Regions from separate parts of the Homo sapiens genome. Here region 1 is linked to region 2. Evidence: promoter capture Hi-C in 16 types of primary human blood cells and fetal thymus (Javierre and others, 2016). All regions are on one chromosome and are shown on one strand. Each heading gives the region's core, a stretch centred on a gene start or on the middle of the fragment in contact. The rest is flanking DNA. Distances are from core to core; before and after follow the strand shown. Region 1 overlaps KIF1B (kinesin family member 1B). Region 2 holds the start of CENPS (centromere protein S).

Region 1 (3,553 bases), core at 1,054-3,553, 59 kb after region 2:
CTTCTGAAGTTATGAAAGGAAATTGATCATTGATGGCCACTGGGTCACACAATCTCTCTGCCTATATTAAAGCCCTCTGAACACATTATCTGGAATAGGAACTCTACTCCTTTATATGTTTCTTTTTAGTCCCATGGCCACACCAAAAGCGATGTTTCTCAAAGTGTGCTCCCAGCCAGCAGCATCAGCTTCACCTGGGAAACTGTTCAAAAACTCAAATTTTTAGACTCCAAGCCAGACCTACGGAACGAGAAACTTTGGGTGGGGTTGAGCCATGGGGGCTTCAACAAGCCTCCCAGGGGATGATGATGTACACTGAAGTCTCAGAGGCCCACTGCCTTAGAAAATGGCAGAAAAAGCAAACAAATGGGAAGACCCAGGGTTCCTGAACGGCTGTGCAGAGAAGACCTGCACCACTGACCTGGACCTGGACCAGCCCTCTTGACTACTGTGTGAGAAATAAATTCCTATACTCTGTATTGCTAGATATCTTTGTAGAGTAACATAGCATTGTATCTCACTAAATCTAAAAAGCCCATTTTAACTTTTTCTCATACTTCATTCTTTTTTTTTTTTGAAATCAAGTTAGCCAGGTGCAGTGGCTCACACCTGTAATCCCAGCACTTTGGGAGGCCGAGGTAGGCAGATCACCTGAGGTCAGGAGTTTGAGACCAGCCTGACCAACATGGCGAAACCCCGTCTCTACTAAAAATACAAAAATTAGCTGGGCGTGGTGGCAGGCCCCTGTAATCCCAGCTACCCAGGAGGCTGAGGCACGAGAATTACTTGAACCCGGGAGGCAGAGGTTGCAGCACTCCAGCCTGGGCGACAGAGTGAGACTCTGTCTCAAAAAAAAAAAAAAAAGGCCGGCGCAGTGGCTCACGCCTGTAATCCCAGCACTTTGGGAGGCTGAGGCTGGCAGATCATGAGGTCAGGAGACCAAGACCATCCTGGCTAACACGGTGAAACCCCATCTCTACTAAAAATACAAAAAATTAGCTGGGTGTGGCCGGGTGCAGTGGCTCACGCCTGTAATCCCAGCACTTTGGGAGGTCGAGGCGGGTGGATCATAAGGTCAGCAGTTTGAGACTAGCCTGACCAAAATGGTGAAACCCGATCTCTACTAAAAATAAAAAAAAAAATAGCTGGGCATGGTGGCGGGTGCCTGTAATCCCAGCTACTTTGGAGGCTGAGGCAGGAGAATCACTTGAAGCTGGAAGGTGGAGGTTGCAGTGAGCCAAGATTGCACCACTACACTCTGGCGTGGGCAACGAGAGCAAAACTCCATCTCAAAAGTAAATAAATAAATAAAATAAAATAAAAAATTAGCTGGGTGTGGTGGCGGGCACCTGTAGTCCCAGCTACTCGGGAGGCTGAAGCAGGAGAATGGCGTGAACCTGGGAGGCGGAGCTTGCAGTGAGCCGAGATTGCGCCGCTGCGCGCCAGCTTGGGTGACAGCTCTGTCACCCAAGCTGGCGCGCAGCGGCGCAATCTCGGCTCACTGCAACCTCCGCCTCCCAGGTTCAACCAATCTTCCTGCCTCAGCCTCCCCAGTAGCTGGGATTACAGGTACATGCCCCTATGCCTGGCTGATTTCTTGCTCTGTCACCCAGGCTGGAGTGCAATGGTGCAACCATGGCTCATTGCAGCCTCAACCTCCCGGGCTCAAGCAATCCTCCCATGTGAGCCTCCTGAGTAGCTGGAACCGCAGGCGCATGCCATCATGTCCAACTATTTTATTTATTTTTTGTAGAGATGGGGGTCTCCCTATGTTGCCCAGGCTGGTCTCAAACTTGTGGGCTGAAGCAATCCTCCCACCTCAGCCCCTGAAAGTGCTGGGATTACAGGTATGAGCCACTGCACTCAGCCACCATTTCTTAAATTGGGATTCATCTTATAATTGATGGCATGCTTAAGTTAGTTGTCAGTGCTTTTTCTTCTTCTCTTAGTGGCACAGAATAGTCCCTACAGTCTGTGGCATCCTAAATTTAATGAAATTACCTGGTTGTGTTATTTTCTCCAGCCACCTTTGCCTGTGTCAGTGTTGGTACAATAAGATAGACAGGTGGATGATAACCAGGTGAGCATAATTGATGGAGATGCACAAGAGGGTGTGTTGCAAAGAACGGATTATGATGATGAATCATGGACTCTAGACTACATTTGTCTTTTTTTTATTTTTTTTAGGGACAGGGTCTTGCTCTGTCGCCCAGGGTGGAATGCAGTGGTGCAATAATAAAACCTCACTGCAACCTTGAACTCCTGGATTCAAGCGATCCTCCCACTTCAGCCTCCCGAGTAGCTGGGACCACAGGCACAGACCACCACGCCTGGGTATCTTATTTATTTTTTGTAGAGACAGCATATCGCTATGTTGCCCAGCCTGGTCTCGAACTCCCAGCCTCAAGCAATCCTCCTGCCTTGGCATCCGAAAGTGCTGGGAGCCACCTCACCTGGCCTTGTCTTTATTTTTCTTACCTACATAATTTGCTGTGGAATCAAAATATTTTTTTCCAAAACAGTTTCAAAATATTTTTCCCAAGATAGCACTTCCTATGTCTGGTATTATGACTGGGGAGACAAGCAGGGGTAGGAATGGAGGATAAAACTAGCAGAAAGGGATGAAGAAGACAGTCATGATGAGTTGATGATGCAGAAGGTTAGTAAGCTATGATGTGAAGAGATGCCAGTAGCTAGCACCTCTCCAGTCACTGTGATAGCCAAAAAGGCTCCCACACATTTCCAAATGCTGCCTAGGGAGAAGGTGCTGCCTTCAGTCAAGAACCATTGAGCTAGAGGAAGGTTGACATTTACCTTGGTTCTTAGATTGACTTCTCTCAGTGAAATCTGGGTACTTACTTCTGATCCAGAGAGTTGCTCCTAGAGTCTACCAGAGAGGGACAGGTGGAGGAGGGAGTGAGGGTGGCACTGCTGAAACTGGACTCAGAGGGATCCCGTCCAATTGGAGAGATATCAGACAACTGGAAGCAAACCGAACACTACAAGTTACATTCAGCTGAAAAAAGCTGCCTCTACAGTAACAATAGGGAGTTTCAACAACCAGAACCTCACTTTGATACATCTTGTTTCAGAAGGTCATTTAAGAAAACAAGCCTATACATAATTTATCAATAAATAAATACATAGGTAAAATTTTAAGAGACAAGGCCTTGCTCTATTGCCCAGGCTGGAGGGCAGTGATGCAATCCTAGCTTCCTGTGGCCTCCAACTCCTGGGCTCCAGCGATCCTCCTGTGCCCTGGCTTCCTGAGTACCTGGGACTACAAGCGTGTACCACCACAACTGGTGAAAATATTTTCAAAAAAGAAAAAAAACAAGCCTACAAATATTTTACGGCCTAAGTGCCACACCAGGAATCAAGACATTTATAAAAGGGGCAAGGTTGGTTTTTTATGTTCCTACTGCCCTCCTGCATTATTATTATTGTTGTCATTATTATTATTATTATTATTATTATTTTCTTTCTCGAGATAAGGTCTTGCTATGTCTTCTTCTTCTTCTTCTTCTTATTATTATTATTATTATTATTTTCT
Region 2 (5,794 bases), core at 3,028-5,527:
AATCAAGTTCTCTACCCACCTTGCAAACATTTCAAGGTCTTTGGCAAAATTTTCTGAAAGAGAAAAAAAAGATACACACTTTAGGCACCCTCCCATCTAATTTCAGAAGCAGAAAAAGTGAAGCCTTGATTTCTACAGCCAGTACAGTGACTTGACTAATATAACAAACCCTCTTAAAGGTGAAAGGAGGCATTTCCAGCAGCCCCACCATTCCATAAGAGCCTGTAGCTTTTTATTCATGACGATCTCCTTGTCCTTCCCAGAGCCCTTCACCCTTCATGGCAAGTCTTCCGTTAATTGTGACTATGCCTTTGGTTTCTAGAAACTATCCTTTAACTTCTGCTACAGTTAAGGCTTGTGAGGTCTTTCATTTCCCCTCTGAAGTCAAGCAAATACCAATGCTACAAGCTCAGCTGTCAAAGAAACTATGGGTGATATAAAAACGTTATAAAGCACTGAAATAAAGAATTTAATGTCTAATGTTCTAGCCATCAGGGCAGTTTAAAACAATAAAATAAAGGCGTTAATGCCCCAGTGTTAGTGTAATAGGAAAAAAATAGTTCTTCCCATAAAATATCCACATCTCACAGCCAAGAAGAGAAGTGTTTCACGAAGAACGCATGAGGATGATAATATTCTTGGTCTGCTGGTCAGACTCGCCACAGCTCCCACCCACGCACTGCTCCCAGGTGAAATCAACCTTTGGGGTTTACAGACATGGCTGGGGAGGCCGAAGCTTCATACCACACTGTCGGAAAGTCAGCTCCGAAATGGCCGCAATGGTCTGTTTGCTGAACTGCATCTCTTTGTCCAATGCAACTTCCTCGCAAAGACAACCCACAGTATAGTGAACTGCTGCCTTTAGCCTCTGGGGAAAAACATCAAAATATTTCACGGGTAAGGCTGCAAATAAGAGCTTTTCACGCCTTAAAAAATGAAGACCAAGGAGAGGGTCTGCTCAGCCCAATCCCTCTGGCGCTTTCCATAATGGCTGAGTGGCTTTTCAAGTGTACTAATAAGTTAATGAGACCCACTGGAGTGCGACTTGTGGAAACATTACTTCCTTGTTAATGGTTATGATTTATGTCAGGTAAAGATAAGAAATTAGATGGCAAGTCAGTGGGGAGACAGGTCAGACTGATGCCTGCCAAGGCCCTGAGTGGTTTCACTCACTTATTCCAAACTATCTGCAGAGCTCCAACTCAGTAAGGGCATATGCTAGGTGTTTGGGAAACAATGAAAAACCGGGCAGGGAACTTTGCCCTTAAGGCAGTTAATCAACAATACAGAAGGATCCCATCCCTCTGCTGCAAGCCCCTGGCAGCCCCAGGCCTGCACGTCACAGAGGACAGAAGTACAACACGGGAAAGGCTCAAGAGGGCACACCCACCCCTCTCGATTTGGAGGGTTGGGAGGCCACCTCCACGGGGCCCTCACTGCTCCTTGGCAAACCTTTTCAATACTGAAAAAGATCTCTCCACCCCTTGCAGAAAATTACCGAGAGGGGAGGATGAGCCTCAATTGCAAGACAAGCTAAGCAATGGTCTCAGCCACGTGTCGACAGAGTTCTGTTGAGCCCACCTGTGGGTACTCCGCCTCGGGGCCGAAGACACAGCTGAGCTGCACGTGATGACAGCTGAACCCACAAGGGCATAAAATCTACCAGCAAGTGTTCAACGCATAGGCAAGAGGAGGAGGAACTGCCAAAACCCAAGTCCAGGAACTCAGGATAGAGGCCAGACAGATGAGGAGGGCATCTACTTTCCTGAATTTCAGACCTCACAAGACTAGGTAAGCTGAGGCCTCTGGTAGGAGAAGCCAAAGAGGCATCAACCTGGGAGGCACGAAGATCACAGGTGTGATCACTGCACACTACAGCCTCGAACTCCTGGGCTCAAGTGAACCTCCTGCCTCAGCCTCTTGAGTAGCTGGGACTACAGGCCCACAACACCCTGCCCGGCTCAAGGTCATCTTTTTTAGGTATGGGTGGGGGTCAGGGTACAGGACATGAATTCTTCTGAATGCTCTTGGCTCCAGGAATTTTTCTCAGATCTTCCTCCTCCTCCTCCTCCCCTCCCCCTGGCTGGGCTGGGGTATCACTGCACTTAGAGGCTAAATCACTAAACTCCTCAAGGGCAGGACCCTGTCAATTTTGTTCACTGCTGCCTACCAAGTGCCTAGAACAGTTGGTTACATGAATGGGGGGAAATCGTCTACAAGCTAATCACAGCTGAGGGGCAAATTTCTCAGCCCATCTTTGCAGCTTCATCAGTAAGCATTTGTTGGTCTATTGAGAGCCAGGCTCTGTTCTAGGGACTAAGAACAGGCCGGGCACAGTGGTTCACACCTGTAATCTCAGCATTTTAGGAGGCCAAGGCGGGCAGATCACTTGAGGTCAGGAGTTCAAAACCAGCCTGGCCAACATGGTGAAACTGTCTCTACTAAACATACAAAATTAGCTGGGCGTGGTGGCAGGGGCCTGTAATCCCAGCTGCTCAGGAGGCTGAGGCAGGAGAATCTCCTGAACCTGGGAGGTGGAGGTTGCAGTGAGGCGAGATGGAGCCACTGCACTCCAGCCTGGACAACAAGAGTGAAACTACGTTTCAAAAAAAACAAAAACCAACCAAAAAAAAACAGGGTAGGCAGGACCAAAGATGACTAAATGCAATGCACCATCCTTAACTGAATCCTGGATGAAGGAAAAAAGACAGTTAAAAGAAACATCTTTAGGACAAGTGGGGGCACTTGACAATGCACATTCAATAGAGTTTTATCAAAATTAATTGTCCCACTTCCTGAGTGGGACAATTTATTGAAATGATGTAGTAGGAGAATGCCTTTTTTTTTTTTTTTTCTGAGATGGAGTCTCGCTCTGTCACCCAGGCTGGAGTGCAATGGTGCGATCTCGGCTCACTGCAACCTCCGCCTCCCGGGTTCAAGCGATTCCCCTGCCTCAACGTCCCGAGTAGCTGGGATTACAGGCACCTGCCACCACACTCGGCTAATTTTTGTACTTTTAGTTGAGAGGGGGTTTCCATGTTGGCCAGTCTGGTCTCGAACTCCTGACCTCAAGTGATCTGCCCACCTCGGCCTCCCAAAGTGCTGGAATTACAGGCGTGAGCCACCGCGCCCAGCCAATGCCTTGTTTTTGGGAGATGTGTACTAAAGAATTAAAATGTAAAGGCGAAGTGTCAAAATATCTGCAATTAATTCTCCAATCGCGGGGCTGGGAGGGAAGCATGGGAGCAAACAGAGCAAAATGCTAACTAGTGGTGAATCAAGGTGACGGGCATCTGGGCATTCTGTACCGTGTTCTTGCAACTTTTCTGAAGGTTTGAACTTCTCAAAAGACAAGGGGCAGGGTAGACAGCTGCTGCAGTGTAACTTTGTAGAGAGGAAACTCCCGCGTCTGGAGCTCATTCCCGCGTTTCTTCAGTCCGTCCTCTTTAAGGTCGCCACTCCGGGTCTTGCTTTTAAGCCTCTTCACGGCAACGTTCTCAGCCTCTGACGCCCCATATGCCCGGCGCTGATGAAAGGAACGAATGGGATGCCCGCAGCTACCCTGACAAGTGATTATTCTTATGACGATTTTGCAGAGAAGAAAATTGCGTCTGGGCCGAGTCGATACGATCACAAGTTGGCGGGGCAGAGATTCGAACCCACATCTAAGGACGAGCTCTGGGCCTGACTGGTCCGCACCGCGTCCCTGCATCAGTAACGAGGGGTCGACGCCTCCAGGGCCAGCGTTCCAGAGCTCCGGCCCGAACCGCCCACCGCGTACGGGCGTCACCTGGAATGTCTAATGCCGACGTTGTACCCTCACGAAAACCCCATCTGAGAAGGGGAAACCGAGGATTCATCGCAAGGCCAGAAGGTGGCCTCTCGCCGCCGGACCCCGGCGCCCGCACGCTCCCCTAGAACCGCTTCCTCCCCAGCCAGCGCAGGCCAGGGTCCAGCCGCGTTGCCGCGGAAACCGCCTCCCAGCACCACCCGCGGCAGTTAAGCCAACGCATGCGCAGCCGCGGGGGGCGCCCGGGGGCGGGGTGCCGATGAGAAGCCGCCGGGGGCTGCCGGGTACTTTTCTGTCCAGAAACTCGACGCCGTCCTGCCCCAGCCCAGCCCGACCCCCGTTTTCCTGTACCTGTTGGTAAGAGAATCGCTGCTGCTCCTCGGTCTCCGCCTCCTCCTCCATCACTGCGGGCCGACCCTGGGCAAACGCAGGAGGGCCGAGAAGGGGCGGTGGTGCGCGGCCAGGTCGGATTTTCCCGCCGCGGCGCGAGCGACGGGCCGCGCGGGCGGACAAAGTACGCAGCTCCGCCCTGCCTCGCGCGCCCCCTGGCGGCGCTCCGTTGAGGGGATTCCGCCGTCGGCCTCCAGCCAGCCCCCTGCTCAGCTTGCTCTGCGGAGGTGGCCGGGCGACGCGGGGACATGACCACCGAGGTCACTGCTGCACCCCAGAGCCTGATTCAGCGCCTGGCACAACGCTGAGCACCACTCTCCGCGAAACACGTGTGCGCATAGGTGCAAAGCGTGTTCCAGTCGGGTGTAGAGGATGCGTAGCCCACGATTTACAGATCATGTAACGCAGTACACATTATCAGGAGCTCCATGCACCTGTACCTCAGGTGTATCTTGCAAAATCGACCATCAACTTTATCATTCTATCACCAACAATAGCGTCACAAAGACTACAATGAGTGAACGACCCGTGACCTCATTCAGCGAGTGGAACAGGAACTGCGTTGTTGCCATTGGCAGGAGTATAGTTCTGACACAAGTGTTACTGTTTTTCCTTTATGTTAACGATGAAGTGAGACCATCAAACCCAATTTTGGTTTGTTTTTATTGTAGTTTTTTGAGAGGCAGGGTCTCACTCTGCCGCCCAGGCTGGAGTGCAGTGGCACCACCAAGACTCACTGTAACCTCCACCTCCTGGGCTCAGGTGATCCTCCCACTTCAGCCTCCCAAGTAGCTGGGACCACAAGCCTGCATCAGCGCACCTGGCTAATTTTTATTTTTTGTAGAGACCAGGTCTCACTATGTTGCCCAGGCTGGTATCAAACTCCTGGCTTCAAACAATCATCCCACCTCAGCCTCCCAAAGTGCTGGAATTACAGGTGTGAGCCACCATGCCCTGCCTGTATTTCTAGGTTTTTGTTTTATTATTTTTTATTGCCTATATTTCTGTATTCTGCATTTGTCACAAGCAGGTGCTACTTTCAGAACGAAGGAAAGCACATAAAGCCACTCCTTGTCTTCCTTTCCCAGGGACGTCCCTCAAGTTCCCTAAGCTTGCCAGGGGCTGAAACCCAGATCAAAGCTTTTTGGAGGAATCAGCCTTCTGAGGACTTTCCTCTGCATCTGCTCAGTGGGTGGCATCTGGAAATGACAGGCACTTCTCGCCTCTGTCCACTGCTCTCTGTGGGCATCCCAGTCTACCTGGACAGTCCTCCTGCCCAAGCAGGGCAAGCCTCTGACGGATTCCCCTAATGGGCAGCATGGGGCTGGGCAGGGCAGGCCATCCAGAGTGAGACCAAGCCTGCAGCAGGAGAGAAGGCCGGTCGCTGGTTGGTGAGCAGCCCCATTTAGAGCACACTGTGGCTGCAAAGCCCAGCTCCCTCCCTTGAGCCTGGTGACCCCAAGCAAGTCACAGGACGTGGCCAAGCTTCATGTCCCTTATTTATCAACTGGGGACAGTAGTTCCAACTTCACAGGGCAGGTGTCAGGTTTTAAACAATTGCCTCACATAAGAGCTAAAGAAATTGTAACAATTCGTCCCAGGAAGTTCCTGTGC

What was found. Contacts are between HindIII fragments. The CHiCAGO score rates a contact against its expected background, and 5 or more counts as called.
Region 1: a contact is called between a fragment that was not itself captured here and the fragment with the promoter of CENPS in region 2, in 1 of 17 cell types (neutrophils). The highest score is 5.1, in neutrophils.

The regions. Positions count from the first base shown.
Region 1 is chr1:10,370,569-10,374,121 of GRCh38, reverse strand. KIF1B (kinesin family member 1B) reads right to left here. Exons shown (of 49, transcript NM_001365951.3): 45 at 2,860-2,981. Among named protein-coding and RNA genes, the nearest start is that of PGD, 27 kb to the left of the region's middle. The HindIII fragment of the contact is 9,462 bases long and covers 1-3,553 here.
Region 2 is chr1:10,428,916-10,434,709 of GRCh38, reverse strand. It overlaps CENPS (centromere protein S), which reads right to left and starts at 4,277. Exons shown (of 5, transcript NM_199294.3): 1 at 4,142-4,277; 2 at 745-868; 3 at 20-53. The coding sequence starts at 4,192. CENPS-CORT (CENPS-CORT readthrough) reads right to left here and starts at 4,277. Exons shown (of 4, transcript NM_199006.3): 1 at 4,142-4,277; 2 at 745-868; 3 at 20-53. The coding sequence starts at 4,192. RefSeq lists enhancers at 974-1,554, 3,630-3,679 and a silencer at 3,930-4,179. The HindIII fragment of the contact is 4,555 bases long and covers 739-5,293 here.